Regions from separate parts of the Homo sapiens genome. Here region 2 is linked to region 1. The links are contacts of gene promoters, found by promoter capture Hi-C in blood cells and fetal thymus (Javierre and others, 2016). All regions are on one chromosome and are shown on one strand. Each heading gives the region's core, a stretch centred on a gene start or on the middle of the fragment in contact. The rest is flanking DNA. Distances are from core to core; before and after follow the strand shown.

Region 1 (6,786 bases), core at 2,662-5,161:
ATTCACTGTCATTAGGATTGTGGGTCACCTACAGCTCGTGGCATTTCTCTTTGGCTGTTTTCAATTTTTTTTCCTTGTCTTTATTTTTCAGCAGTTTGATTTTGATGTGTCTGGGCATGGATGTCTTTGGATTTATTGCATTTGGGGTTTGCTCAGTTTTTTGAATCTGTAGGTTGGTGTTTCTTTCCCAAACTTGGGAAGTTTTCAGCCATTATTTCTTCAAAAGCTTTTTAGTGCTTTCTTTCTCATCTGCTTTGGGATTCTGATGGCATAAATATTAGACCTTTTGTTATGTCCCACAGGTGCTTGAAGTTTTATTAATTTTCCCCTCCTCTCTGTTGGTCAGTTTGGATAATTTCTATTAATCTGTCTTCATGTTCACTGACTCCTCTGTCATTTCCATTCTGCCATTGAATCTATCCAGTGAGTTTTAAAATTTGATTATTGTACTTTTCTATTTTAAATGTTTATTTGGTTCCTCTTACTTTCTCCAAGTTTTTTACTCATACTTTCTTTTTTAAAATTATTATTTTTTATTTGTTTGAGACAGAGTCTCGCTCGGTGGCCCAGGCTGGAGTACAATGGCACGATCTCGGCTCACTGCAACCTCCACCTCCCAGGTACAAGCGATTCTCCTGCCTCAGCCTCCTGAGTGCACCTGCCACCATGTCCGGCTAATTTTTGTATTTTTAATAGAGACAGGGTTTCACCATGTTAGCCAGGCTGGTCTCGAACTCCTGATCTCAAGTGATTCGCCTGCCTCAGCCTCTCAAAGTCTTGGGATTACAGGCGCGAGCCACTGTGCCCAGCCCCATACTTTCTATTTTAACTTTTGTTTCAAGAATGTTTATAATTTTTTGAGCATTTTCATAACTAATGTCTTTTTCAGATAATCCTAACAGTCATTTTATAGTTGGTGACTCTTGATTATCTTTTCCCATGCAAGTTGAGATTTTTGTGATGGTTCATATGCCTAGCAATTTTGTATCCTGAGCATTTTGAATATTATGAGGCTCTAATTCTTGTTTAAATCCTATGGAGAATGTTGGCATTTTAATTTTTTTTTTTTGAGAAGGAGTCTTGCTCTGTCACTCAGGCTAGAGTGCAGTGCTGTGATCTGGGCTCACTGAAACCTCTGCCTCCTGGGTTCAAGTGATTCTTGTGCCTCAACCTTCCGGGCAGTTGGGATTACAGGCATCCGCCACCATGCCCGGCTATTTTTTTTTTTTTTTTTTTTTTAAGTAGAGACCGGGTTCCACCATGTTTACCAGGCTGGTCTCAAACTCCTAACCTCAGGTGATCTGCCCTCCCTAAGTGCTGGGATTACAGGTGTGAGCTACCGCGCCTGGCCAACAGTTTAATTTAAGCAAGCACATGAACTAGTTAGGGACAGCCTGCAGGTTCCGATCTTCTTCTGGGGTTCATGTTCCAAAGTGAGTTCTGTGTTCATACCCTCTGTGGGGCTATTTGGATCTGTCTCGTGGCTGCATCCTCCCGTAGTTTGGTACCTGAACAAAAATCTGTTCATGAGCACAGTTCTCTGAGTGTTTGGTGTGCTCGTTAAGTCGATGATACGCAGGTCAGCGATGAGCCCAAGAGTTCAAAAACAACTCTGTGAGGTTGCTTGCCAGATGCTCTCACCTTCCGCTATCTTCTCAGTGTTTTTAGGTTCCCTCAGGTTTCAGTGCGCTGGTCTGAAACTTCCCACTTTCAGTTTGGCTTGGGGGAGCTGCCCACTTCCACAATTGTGCCACAGCAGTGGGAAACAGTTAAAAACAACAAAACACCAAGTTTGTGTCTGTCCTCTTGGAGCTGCAGTGCTACTGAATGGAAAGGACTATCTCTTTCCCTCAGACTTTTGGCTGCTGAAGCTTTTTGCTCTGGCCTTGGGCTTGACTGGGGGCTGGAGTGCAAAGAAAAGAAGAAAATAGAAAGAACAGGGAATTTTCTTCACTCCCTCTGAGGGTTAGGAGTTTCCTTTTCTGCTCCACGAGCCAGAATCAGAGGGTTTCTCCCGAGTCTCTGTGTGTGCCCCCGACACTCAGTTCCAGGCTTTGGACTACCTTCAGCTTGAAGATGGGTGACACAACCAGTTTGATGGTGCGTCAAATTCTGCTGTTCTTTTTATTTTTAATTTTTTGTTTGAATTTAATTCCTCTAATTTTTCATCAGTGTTAAAATTTCACCTTTTCCCAGCACCCCCAAAAAGCCTGTGGGCACAAAATGGTGGCCACGTGGCAAAGAACTCAGCAAGGAGAGCTGCTGGTTGGTTTCTATCTTTGTTTGTTTGAGACGGAGCTTTGCTCTTTTGCCCAGGCTAGAGTGAAGTTGTTGGGGAAACCAGCCCCACACCACCCGGCGGGTACCCCGAGTCCAGCGAAGACAAAGGAATTAGAATAAGAGTTTAAAAGGCGGGTCCGGGGGACCGGAGCGTTGGAGGCTTGCTCACGGCCCCGAGCTCTCGGCCTCCACCCAATTTATTGGTGTATATTCACACTGTTGTGCAACCATCACCCCCATCCATCTCCAGGACTTTACCATCTTCTCACACTGAAACTGTGCACCCGTTAGTATTTTTCATGGCTATGTGGATGTAATATAATTTCTTTCAGAAACCCCTATTGTTATACATTCAGGTTTCTTTTTTTCTCTATTATAAATATCTTTTATCAGCAATGCTTCAGCAAGATCTCTTGTGCATACATCTTGCAGACATATTATTTCTTTTTCTTTTTTTTTTTTTTTTTTTTTGAGACGGAGTCTCGCTCTGTCACCCAGGCTGGAGTACAGTGGCGCGATCTCGGCTCACTGCAAGCTCCGCCTCCCGGGTTCACGCCATTCTCACGCCCGCCACCATGCCCGGCTAATTTTTTGTATTTTTAGTAGAGACGGGGTTTCACCGTGTTATCCAGGATGGTCTCGGTCTCCTGACCTCGTGATCCGCCCACCTCGGCCTCCCAAAGTCCTGGGATTACAGGCATGAGCCACGGCGCCCGGCCACAGACGTTATTTCTGAAGGATAAATTCCTAGAAATGGATTTGCTAGGGCACGTAGGAGGAATTCCAATTTACACTCACTTGTATGTGTGAGGAAACTTTCAGACTCTACTGTAACGACAGGAGGTATTACCGCTGTTTGTCCATGTGATAGGCAAACGTTTCTGTTAATTTTAATACTGTTTGGATAGCTAGTACCGGCTCAGTTTTTTTAACCCACACCATGTTACTGTCTTGATTCTGGACTTTCGCAGTGTGTCAGTGTAGAAGCAGCTAACGCTTCCGATGTACACAACCTAGACGTTCCATGACCCAGCTGACTTCGATGCTGCAAGCCTCCCTTTCGGTTTCCCGGAGCAAGCGCCCGAGTGCGTGTTGGGCTCCCGGCAGGGCTCCTGGCCGGCCCTCGACGGACTTCCCCGCCTTTGCCCAGTCCTGCCCCTCCGCGGAGGCTTGCCAAGGTCTTGTCTGCTGCGCTTGATGTGTGCAGCTCAGCTTTACTGCGTCTAGGCTAAGCCCCACAGTTTCTTTTACAGAGCGATTGTCCAACTTCAGGCATCTGGGTCCCCGAGTGGCGGGTCTGGGCCGGAGCTGGGAATCAGCCTTTCCAGCAAGGTCCCTGCAGATGCCGCGGGTCTGAGGACTACGCTTTGGAAGGCCTCGCAGTGCGTCTAGATCTGACAGCTGCTCTGCATGAGCCTGGCTCCAGGCTGAAGCAATAGTCGGTCAACACAAAATCGTTCTCCCAAGTTAGGGAAGCAGAAGCCAGACAGGGAGACTGGGTAGGTGCGCGCTGGTACCGCCGCGGCGTTCGCTCCGGCTTCAGTGCACGGCCGGAGGAGGACGCCAGGGGGCAGCAGCGCCACGCTCACCCGCCCAGGACGCGCTTCCGAACGCGCAAGCGCAGTAGGCCCAGTGCGTGCTGGCCCGGGGTGGCAGGAGCCGCAGAGGCTTGGGCTGCAGGTAGGTGCTGCGGCGAGGGGTGAGAGGGCGAAGGGGCGAGGGGGCGTGCAGCTGGGTTTCCCGGGGGACCCTGTACGTGGCCTGGGCCGCACCCCCCGCAGCCCCGGCCGCCTGCCCGCGGCCTGTCCGGAGGCTCCCTAGGAGGCTGCGCTGGGCCTGAGCGGCCGTGTCCACCGCGCCCAGCCCCTATCTCCGCGTCCACCCCTGCGCGGTAGCGGGACGTTAAAGAACCAGAGAAGGGCCCGGCGAGGTGGCTCCAGCCTGTAATCCCAGCGCTTTGGGAGGCCGAGGCGGGAGGATCGCGTGAGCTCAGGCGAGAGCAGCCTGGGCAACATGGCGGAACTTCTGTCTCCGTAAAAAAGCACTTAGCCGGGCGCGGTGGCGCCGCCTATAGTCTTATCTACTCCGGAGGCTGAGGCGGGAGAATGCTTGAACCCGGCGGGGGCGGAGGTTTCAGTGAGCCGAAATCGCGCCACTGCACTTCAGCCTGGGGGCCAGAGTGAGAGGCTGTTTCTATTATTATTACTTTATCATTATTATTATTATTTGAGACGGAGTCTCGCTCTGTCGCCCAGGCTGGAGTGTAGTGGCGCGGTCTTGGCTCCTGGGATTACAGGCGTCCGCCACCACGCCCGGCTAATTTTTGTATTTTTAGTAGAAACGGGGTTTCCCCATGTTGGTCAGGCTGGTCTCGAACGCCTGACCTCAGGTGATCCGCCCGCCTCTGCCTCCCAAAGTGCTGGGATTACAGGCGTGAGCTACTGGGTCCGGCAGAGGCTGTCTCTGTTTAAAAAAACAAAAACCAAACCAAACCAAAACAAAACAAAAAACAAAAAAACCAGAAAGGACCGAGGACTCTGTCTCAGCTCTTTGCCTTTGGGTGTTTATTCTGCACGAGATCATTGTTGCCAGGAGGTGTTAAGTGTAATCATATTCTCTTTTTTTTAGAAAGCAAAATTTCGCTGTTTTGTTGCATAATCTTGTCTTTGCCACCCTTTGCCTTTGCTATAGAACCTTAAGGCTAAATAAGCGTTCAGAATATTTAAAATAATCCTCTTAATGTACCTTGTGCTTTATTGGCGCAATGGAATTCTACTCTAAACTGTATTGGATGACATTACTCTGTGTCTTCCCTAGTTGTAGAAAATATCTTGTAAGTCGGTAAAAACTAGTTTTGTCCCTTTGCTTTTCTTTTCTTTTTAAGCTGTAAATGTGGAGCAGTGGGTCCCAAGCCTTTCTCTATCAATAAGCCTTCCTATCAGTGTCAGAAATGCTTTGCATTTCAGTCGTGCCTGAATTTCTTCTGCCCAACCTGCCCCACCATCTTTATTCCTTAATGTGCAGGCTGTTTTCAGGACCAGTAAATTTCAGTGGTTTTTGCTTACTTCTGGACACGAAAGTTCCTTTAGCCACACAGCCTCATGCTATGCTCTGGGCGGCCTACTCCAGAATATGCCTGTGAAACAAAAAAGCAAATCGGGGTTGAGGTGGGCTGAAGTCTTCTTTAAGAAACCGGCAGTCCCAGGGTACCCCAGCCCAGCCCCTAGCTGACCACGCTGGGTTTGATTTAGTTCAACTCCCGAGCATTGCGGTATTTAGGGGAAGAATGGGCTTGAGGCCAGAAAACTTGGCTCTTCTGTGTATAGTTCAGTGACCTTAGATATATTACTTCACCTCTGACTCAGTTGTCTTATCTGTGAAATGGGAATAACAACAATTACATCCACTTCACAGAATTGGTGTGAAGTTGACAGTGTATAAAAGTCAAATGAATTTTGGGGTATTTTTTTTATTTGTTTTGTTTTGGTTTGGTTTGGTTTGTTTTTGCCGAGAGAGGATTCAGAAGTGAATGTGAGGACTTAGGGATATATAAAAGGTTTTTGGGGCATATGAAATTTGGATTCAGCAAGAAATGCATTAAAGGTTTTCTGAGTAATGCTGAGGGTCCAAGAGAGATTAGAAAATATGCATTTCTAGAGTCCCACAGAGTTTTGTAGCTGATGTTGGCAGCCTTTGAGTGGAAATGAAGAAGTGGACAGGGCAAGTTACATGGGTCTGGTGAATGACAAGCAGATCTGGGTTTATGATGAAGCCTCTAGCCTCTTCACTTGCACAAATACCTTCCAAAACCTTGCACAAATCCTCTTGCCAAAACTCTGGCAAGAGGCTCAGCACTTTTACATTCATAACTATTCTTCTCTTAAGGAATTACCACTCCTTGCCCCAACTTGTATAAGCTTCAGGCCCCATAAAACCTGAATCCACTAGTGGCAAGGAAGGATTGGTGGGAGGTTAGGGGTAAGGAGGGTTGGAGGGTTGAAAGGATTTATCGCAGGGTTTGAGCTGGGAAACTTGGATTGGAGAAGGAGGTGGCAGATGAGGGTCCTCAGAAGACAGGAGCCGTGAGGAGAGGAAGAGCGGATTCCGTGGAGCGAACACAGGAGAGGGAAAGCAGCCTGTGCGGCTGAGGCCATGAAGAGGGAGAGGTGCAGAGTGACCAGGCAGTTGGTGCGTCTTTGCCGAGTACCCGCTGTGTGCCAGGCACTGGGGTGCAGTGGTGAACAGGACAGGCAGGCAGGCTTCTTGGTGCTCAGAATCTAGAGGAAGCCGGGGCCTGGGTATCCCAGAAAGGGAGCCTTTGAGGAAAGCTCAGGGGCCAGAGAGTGTGGTGCAGGGAGGGTTTAGGGAAGCAGATAGGGGCTAGATTTCAGGAGGCCACATAAGAGTTTGGACTTGATCCTGTGGGCCGAGTGGGGGGCTGTTGAATGTTAAGCAAGGTGGGATCAGATCCGTGCTTTAGAAAGCTCTCCCTGCATGGGCCGGACA
Region 2 (6,786 bases), core at 1,519-4,018, 610 kb after region 1:
AATTGCTGACCACAAAGACCAAGCAGAGAAGGGAATATCATGGCGCTCTTGTGCTCCTTTTAAGGCTGATCCGAACTTGTCCCAATCTTTTATGTTCATCATTCCATATTTCAGGAACCAAGGAGAATACTTTTCTATGAGATGGAACTAAGATGTGAGGTTTTGGATACTCACAATTACCCCTCTGCAGTGCAATAACTGCCACACCAGGCATAAGTAATTAGCAAACTTACTGTGAGCCTGACCCATATTTTTCCGACATTACCATGGAATTCTCTGAGCTCCCTACTTACCCATAGAGCTTGAAGTGAAAAAGTACTCTGGCATCCTTTGTCACTCGTCCTCCACTTTCCACACTCTGCCGTTCCTTCACCGGATTATTTGTAGAGATTACAGGGAGCCCCATGTTGGGCAACGGATGTTGGGGAAACCACCCCCACACCACCCGGTGAGTACCCCAAGTTCAGAAGAGTCAAAGGAGTTGGAAAGAGACAGAATACGGGTTTAAAAGGCAGATCAAGGGGGCAGGAGATCCAGAGGCTTCCTCAAGGTCCAGAGCTCTTTGGCTCTGCCTAATTTATTGGTTTACAAGCTCTTTGTTCTTAGGACAGATGTGAGGGGAGGAAGGGAAGAGGAAAAGGGTTAATCAGTGAAGGAGAACTTGTGAGTCATTCAATAAGATGTATAGCAGTGGCCGTTTCTGTGAATTTCCTTGAGCAAAGGCATGTGTCTAGACTACTTAAGATCTTTAACTTATGGAGACTGAAAAGGGTGAGAGTGGGTTTCAGGAGGAGCCAAGATATTTGTTTATACTTCACTGTTTCAAGGGAGTGTTATCTCCCTGAGCAACCTGTGGAATGCCACGGAGCAATTATGCTTTAGGGGCATAAAGACATGAGGGCAACAAGGAGACTTTTCTGCTCAGAGACCACCCATGGTCTCTCACATAGGTGTCTCACACAGGGGAGACCATCTCATCTGGCAGCCCAGAAACTCTCTTTCCCAAAGAAACTATCTAGGATACTGCCTTCTGATGAGTGGATTCATCTCACAGAGTTAAACCTTCATGTTGATTCAACAAGTAACAAGTTGGAAACACTGTTTTTGCAGTAAATGCGAAGGGACATTTGGGAGCCCTTTGGGGCCTATGGTGAAAAATTGAATATCCCCAGAAAAAAGCTAGAAAGAAGCCCATCTGTAAAACTGCTTTGTGATGTGTGGAATTATGCCACAGAGTTAAACCATTCTTCTAATTGAGCAGGTTGGAAATATCATTTTGTAGAACCTGCAAAAAGATATTTGGGTGCCCCTTGAGGCTTACGGTGAAAAACTGAATATCCCCAGAAAAAAATAGAAGCAAGCTGCTTGTAAAACTGCTTTTGGATGTGTGGATTCATTTCACAGCTTTAAACTTTTCCTATGATTGAGCAGGTTGGAAACACCCTTTTTGCAGAATGTGTGAAGGGACATTTGGGAGTACTTTGAGGCCTATGGTGAAAATCCGAATATCCCAAGATAAAAACTAGAAAGAGACTATCTGTGAAACTGGTTTGTTTTGTATCATCTCACAGTGTAGATCCTTTTTTTTATTTAGCACGTTGGAAACACTATTTGTACAATCTGTGAAGAAATATTTGGGAGCCCGTTGAGGCCTATGGTTAAAAACCGAATATCCCCAAGAAAAAACTAGAAATAAGCTATCTGTGAAACTGCTTTCTGACGTGAGTATTCAACTCACAGATTTAAACTTTATTTTGATTCAACAAATTGAAAACACTGCTTTTGTAGTAAATGCGAAGGGACATTTAGAAGCCCATTGATGCCTATAGTTAAAAAATAGAATGTCCTTAGGTAAAAACTGAAAAGAAGCTATCTGTGAAACTGCCTTGTGGTGTGTGGAAATCACAGAGTTAAAACTTCTTCTGATTAGCATGTTGGAAACACGCTTATTTTAGAATCTGCAAAGGGACATTTAGAATTCCACTGAGGCCTATGGTGAAATACCGAGTATCCATAGTTGAAAACTAGAAAGAAACTATCTGTCGAACTTCTTTGTGATGTGTGGATTTATCCCATAGTATTACACCTTTCTTTTGATTCAGCAGTTTGGAAACACTCTTTTTTTAGGCTCCATGAAGGTAAACTTGGGAGCCTATTGAGGCCTATCATGAAAAACCAAATATCTTCAGAAAAAAACTAGAAAGAAGCTATCTGTATACTGCTTTGTGATGTGTGGATTCTCTCACCAAGTTAAAAATTTCTTTTGATTCAGTAATTTGGAAACACTTTTTTTTTTTGTAAAATCTGCGAATAGACATTTAGGAGCCTTTGAAGCCTATGGTAAAAAAACAAATATTTACAGATAAAAACTGAAGGAAAGCTGTCTGTGAAACTGATTTGTGATGTGTGGATTTATCTCACAGAGTTAAATGTCACTTTTGATTAGCAGGTTGGAAACACTCTTCTTATAGAATCTGCAAAGGGGCATTTGTGAGCCCATTGAGGCCTATGGTGAAAAACAGAATATCCCCAGATAAAAAATAGAAAGAAGCTATCTTTGAAACTGCTTTGTGATGCGTGGATTCATCTCACAGAAGTAAACCTTTATTTCTTTCAACAGATTGGAAACACCCTTTCTGTAGTAAATGAGAAGGGATATTTTGGAGCCCCTTGAAATCTAAGATGAAAAACAGAATATCCCCAGATAAAAACTAGAAATAAGCAATCTGTGAAACTGGTTTGTAATGTGTGAATTCATCTCACAGAGGTAAGACTTACTTTAAATTAGCAGGTTTGAAACACTCTTTTTAGACAATTTGCAAAGGGACATTTGGGAAGCCATTGAGGCCTAAGGTGAAAATTCAAACATCCCAAGATAAAAACAAGAAATAAGTTATCTGTGAAACTGGTTTGCCATATGTTGATTCATCTCACAGAATTAAACATTTCTTTTGATTGAGCAGTTTGTAAACACTCTTATTGTGTAATTTGTGAAGGGGCATTTGGGAGCCCTTTGAGGCCTATTGTGAAAAATTGACTATCCCCAGATAGTAACTCGGGAGAAGCTATCTCTGAAACTGGTTTGTGATGAGTGAATTTATCTCACAGAGATACAGCTTTATTTTGATTCAACAGGTTGGAAACCTCTTTTTTTGTCAAGAATAAATTCTTTAATAGAAAGATGTAGACATATATGCACAAGAAACAACAGCAAACAGGAAACCATAATCTCTCCAAATGGGCAAAGCAAAAAACCAGTAACTGACCCCATTGATATGGCTATATGTAAGCTGTCTAACCATGAATTCAAAGTAGTAGTTTTTTTCATGAAAATAAATTTAATCTTAACCCCTTAAGAGGATCTCAGGAAGAGGGGATCCTAGGACCACACTTAGACTTGATGTTCTAGGAAAATACAATTTACAAAAAATATATAATTTTTCAACAAAAAAACTTCAGACCAATTTTACTTATGATTAAGAATGGAAAATTTTTAAATAAAATAACCAATAGCATATTAAACAAACAACATGATCAACAAGACTCATTCCAGAATGAAAGAATCCTTCAATATTAGGAAATCTGTTAATGTATTTTTTTAAAATTTTATTATTATTATACTTTAGGATTTAGGGTACATGTGCACAATATGCAGGTTGGTTACATATGTATACATGTGCCATGTTGGTGTGCTGCACCAATTAACTCGTCATTTAGCATTAGGTATATCTCCTAATGCTATCCCTCACTGCTCCCCCCACCCCACAACAGTCACCAGTGTGTGATGTTCCCCTTCCTGTGTCCATGTGTTCTCATTGGTCAATTCCCACCTATGAGTGAGAAAACGCAGTGTTTGGTTTTTTGTCCTTGTGATAGTTAGCTGAGAATGATGGTTTCCAGTTTCATCCATGTCTCTACAAAGAACATGAACTCATCATTTTTTATGGCTGCATAGTATTCCATGGTGTATATGTGTCACATTTTCTTAATCCAGTCTATCGTTGTTGGACATTTAGGTTGGTTCCAAGTCTTTGCTATTGGGAATAGTGCCACTATAAACATACGTGTGCATGTGTCTTTATAGCAGCATGATTTGTAATCCTTTGAGTATATCCCCAGTAATGGGATGGCTGGGTCAAATGGTATTTCTAGTTCTAGATCCCTGAGGAATTGCCACACTGACTTCCACAATGGTTGAACTAGTTTACAGTACCACCAACAGTGTAAAAGTGTTCCTATTTCTCCACATCCTCTCCAGCACCTGTTGTTTCCTGACTTTCTAATGATTGCCATTCTACCTGGTGTAAGAAGGTATCTCATTGTGGTTTTGATTTGCATTTCTCTGATGGCCAGTGATGGTTAACATTTTTTCATGTGTTTTTAGTCTGCATAAATGTCTTCTTTTGAGAAGTGTCTGTTCATATCCTTTGCCCACTTTTTGATGGGGTTGTTTGTTTTTTTCTTGTAAATTTGTTTGAGATCATTGTAGATTCTGGATATTAGCCCTTTGTCGGGTGAGTAGATTGCAAAACTTTTCTCCCATTCTGTAGGTTGCCTGTTCACTCTGATAGTAGTTTCTTTTGCTGTGCAGAAGCTCTTTAGTTTAATTAGATCCCATTTGTCAATTTTGGCTTTGGTTGCCATTGCTTTTGGTGATTTAGAAATGAAGTCCTTGCCCATGCCTATGTTCTGAATGGTATTGCCTCGGTTTTCTTCTAGGGTTTTTATGGTTTTAGGTATAACATGTAAGTCTTTAATCTATCTTGAATTAATTTTTGTGTAAGGTGTAAGGAAAGGATCCAGTTTCAGATTTCTGTAATTATGCAGCATTAATTCTGAGGGCTCTGTTCTGTTCTTTTGGTCTATATCTCCATTTTGGTACCAGTACCATGCTGTTTTGGTTACTGTAGCCTTGTAGTATAGTTTGAAGTCAAGTAGCGTGATGTCTCCAGTTTTATTCTTTTGGCTTAGGATTGACTTGGCAATGCGGGCTCTTTTTTGGTTCCATATGAACTTTAAAGTAGTTTTTTCCAATTCTGTGAAGAAAGTCATTGGTAGCTTGATGGGGATGGCATTGAATCTATAAATTATCTTGGGCAGTATGGCCATTTTCACGACATTGATTCTTCCTACCCATGAGCATGGAATATTCTTCCATTTGTTTGTATCCTCTTTTATTTCCTTGAGCAGTGGTTTATAGATCTCCTTGAAGAGGTCCTTCACATCCCTTGTAAGTTGGATTCCTAGGTATTTTATTCTCTTTGAAGCAATTGTGAATGGGAGTTAACTCATGATTTGGCTCTCTGTTTGTCTGTTATTGGTGTATGAGAATGCTTGTGATTTTTGCATATTGATTTTGTATCCTGAGACGTTGCTGAAGTTGCTTATCAGCTTGAGGAGATTTTGGGCTGAGACAATGGGGTTTACTAGATATACAATCATGTCATCTGCAAAGAGGGACAATTTGACTTCCTCTTTTCCTAATTGAATACCCTTTATTTCCTTCTCCTGCCTGATTTCCCTGGCCAGAACTTGCAACACTATGTTGAATAGGAGTGGTGAGAGAGGGCATCCCTGTCTTGTGCCCGTTTTTAAATGGAATGCTTCCAGTTTTTGCCCATTCAGTATGATATTGGCTGTGGGTTTGCCATAGATAGCTCTTATTATTTTGAGATACGTCCCATCAATACCTAATTTATTGAGAGTTTTTAGCATGAAGTGTTGTTGAATTTTGTCAAAGGCCTTTTCTGCACCTATTGAGATAATCATGTGGTTTTTGTCTTTGGTTCTGTTTATATGCTGGATTACATTTATTGATATGTGTATGTCGAACCAGACTTGCATCCCAGGGATTAAGCCGACTTGATCATGGTGGATAAGCTTTTTGATGTGCTGCTGGATTTGGTTTGCCAGTATTTTATTGAGGATTTTTGCACCAATGTTTATGAAGGATATTGGTCTAAAATTCTCTTTTTTGGTTGTGTCTCTGCCAGGCTTTGGTATCAGGATGAATCTGGCCTCATAAAATGAGTTAGGGAGGATTCCCTCTTTTTCTATTGATTGGAATATTTTCAGAGGGAATGGTACCAGCTCTTCTTTGAAACTTTGTCCTGGACTTTTTTTGGTCAGTAAGGTACTGAATATTGCCTGAATTTCAGAGCCTGTTATTGGTCTATGCAGAGATTCAACTTCTTCCTGGTTTAGTCTTGGGAGGATGTATGTTTTGAGGAATTTATCCATTTCTTCTAGATTTTCTAGTTTGTTTGCATAGAGGTGTTTATAGTATTCTCTGTTGGTAGTCTGTATTTCTGTGAGATCTTTGGTGATATCCCCTTTATCATTTTTTATTGCATCTATTTGATTCTTCTCTCTTTTCTTCTTTATTAGTCTTGCTAGTGGTCTATCAATTTTGTTGATCCTTTCAAAAAACCAGCTCCTGGATTCATGTACTTTTTGAAGAGTTTTTTGTGTCTCTATTTCCTTCAGTTCTGCTCTGATCTTAGTTATTTCTTGCCTTCTGCTAGCTTTTGAATGCATTTGCTCTTGCTTTTCTCATTCTTTAATTGTGATGTTAGGGTGTCATATTTAGATCTTTCCTGCTTTCTCTTGTTGGCTTGTAGTGCTCTAAATTTCCCTCTACACACTGCTTTGAATGTGTCCCAGAGTTTCTGGTATGTTGTGTCTTTGTTCTCATTGGTTTCAAAGAACATCTTTATTTCTGCCTTCATTTCGTTATGTACCCAGTAGTCATTCAGGAGCAGGTTGTTCAGTTTCCATGTAGTTGAG

What was found. The method cuts DNA at HindIII sites, captures the fragments that hold promoters and counts their contacts. A CHiCAGO score of 5 or more calls a contact.
Region 2: a fragment that was not itself captured here is called in contact with the fragment with the promoter of POMK in region 1 in 2 of 17 cell types (M1 macrophages and M2 macrophages); the score reaches 7.3 in M1 macrophages.

Annotation. Positions count from the first base shown.
Region 1 is chr8:43,089,604-43,096,389 of GRCh38, forward strand. POMK (protein O-mannose kinase) reads left to right here and starts at 3,912. Exons shown (of 5, transcript NM_032237.5): 1 at 3,912-3,960. RefSeq lists enhancers at 1,352-1,541, 2,876-3,782, 3,783-4,688 and a silencer at 3,940-4,149. The HindIII fragment of the contact is 4,326 bases long and covers 1,870-6,195 here.
Region 2 is chr8:43,701,577-43,708,362 of GRCh38, forward strand. No RefSeq gene overlaps it. Among named protein-coding and RNA genes, the nearest start is that of POTEA, 410 kb to the left of the region's middle. The HindIII fragment of the contact is 6,220 bases long and covers 1-5,878 here.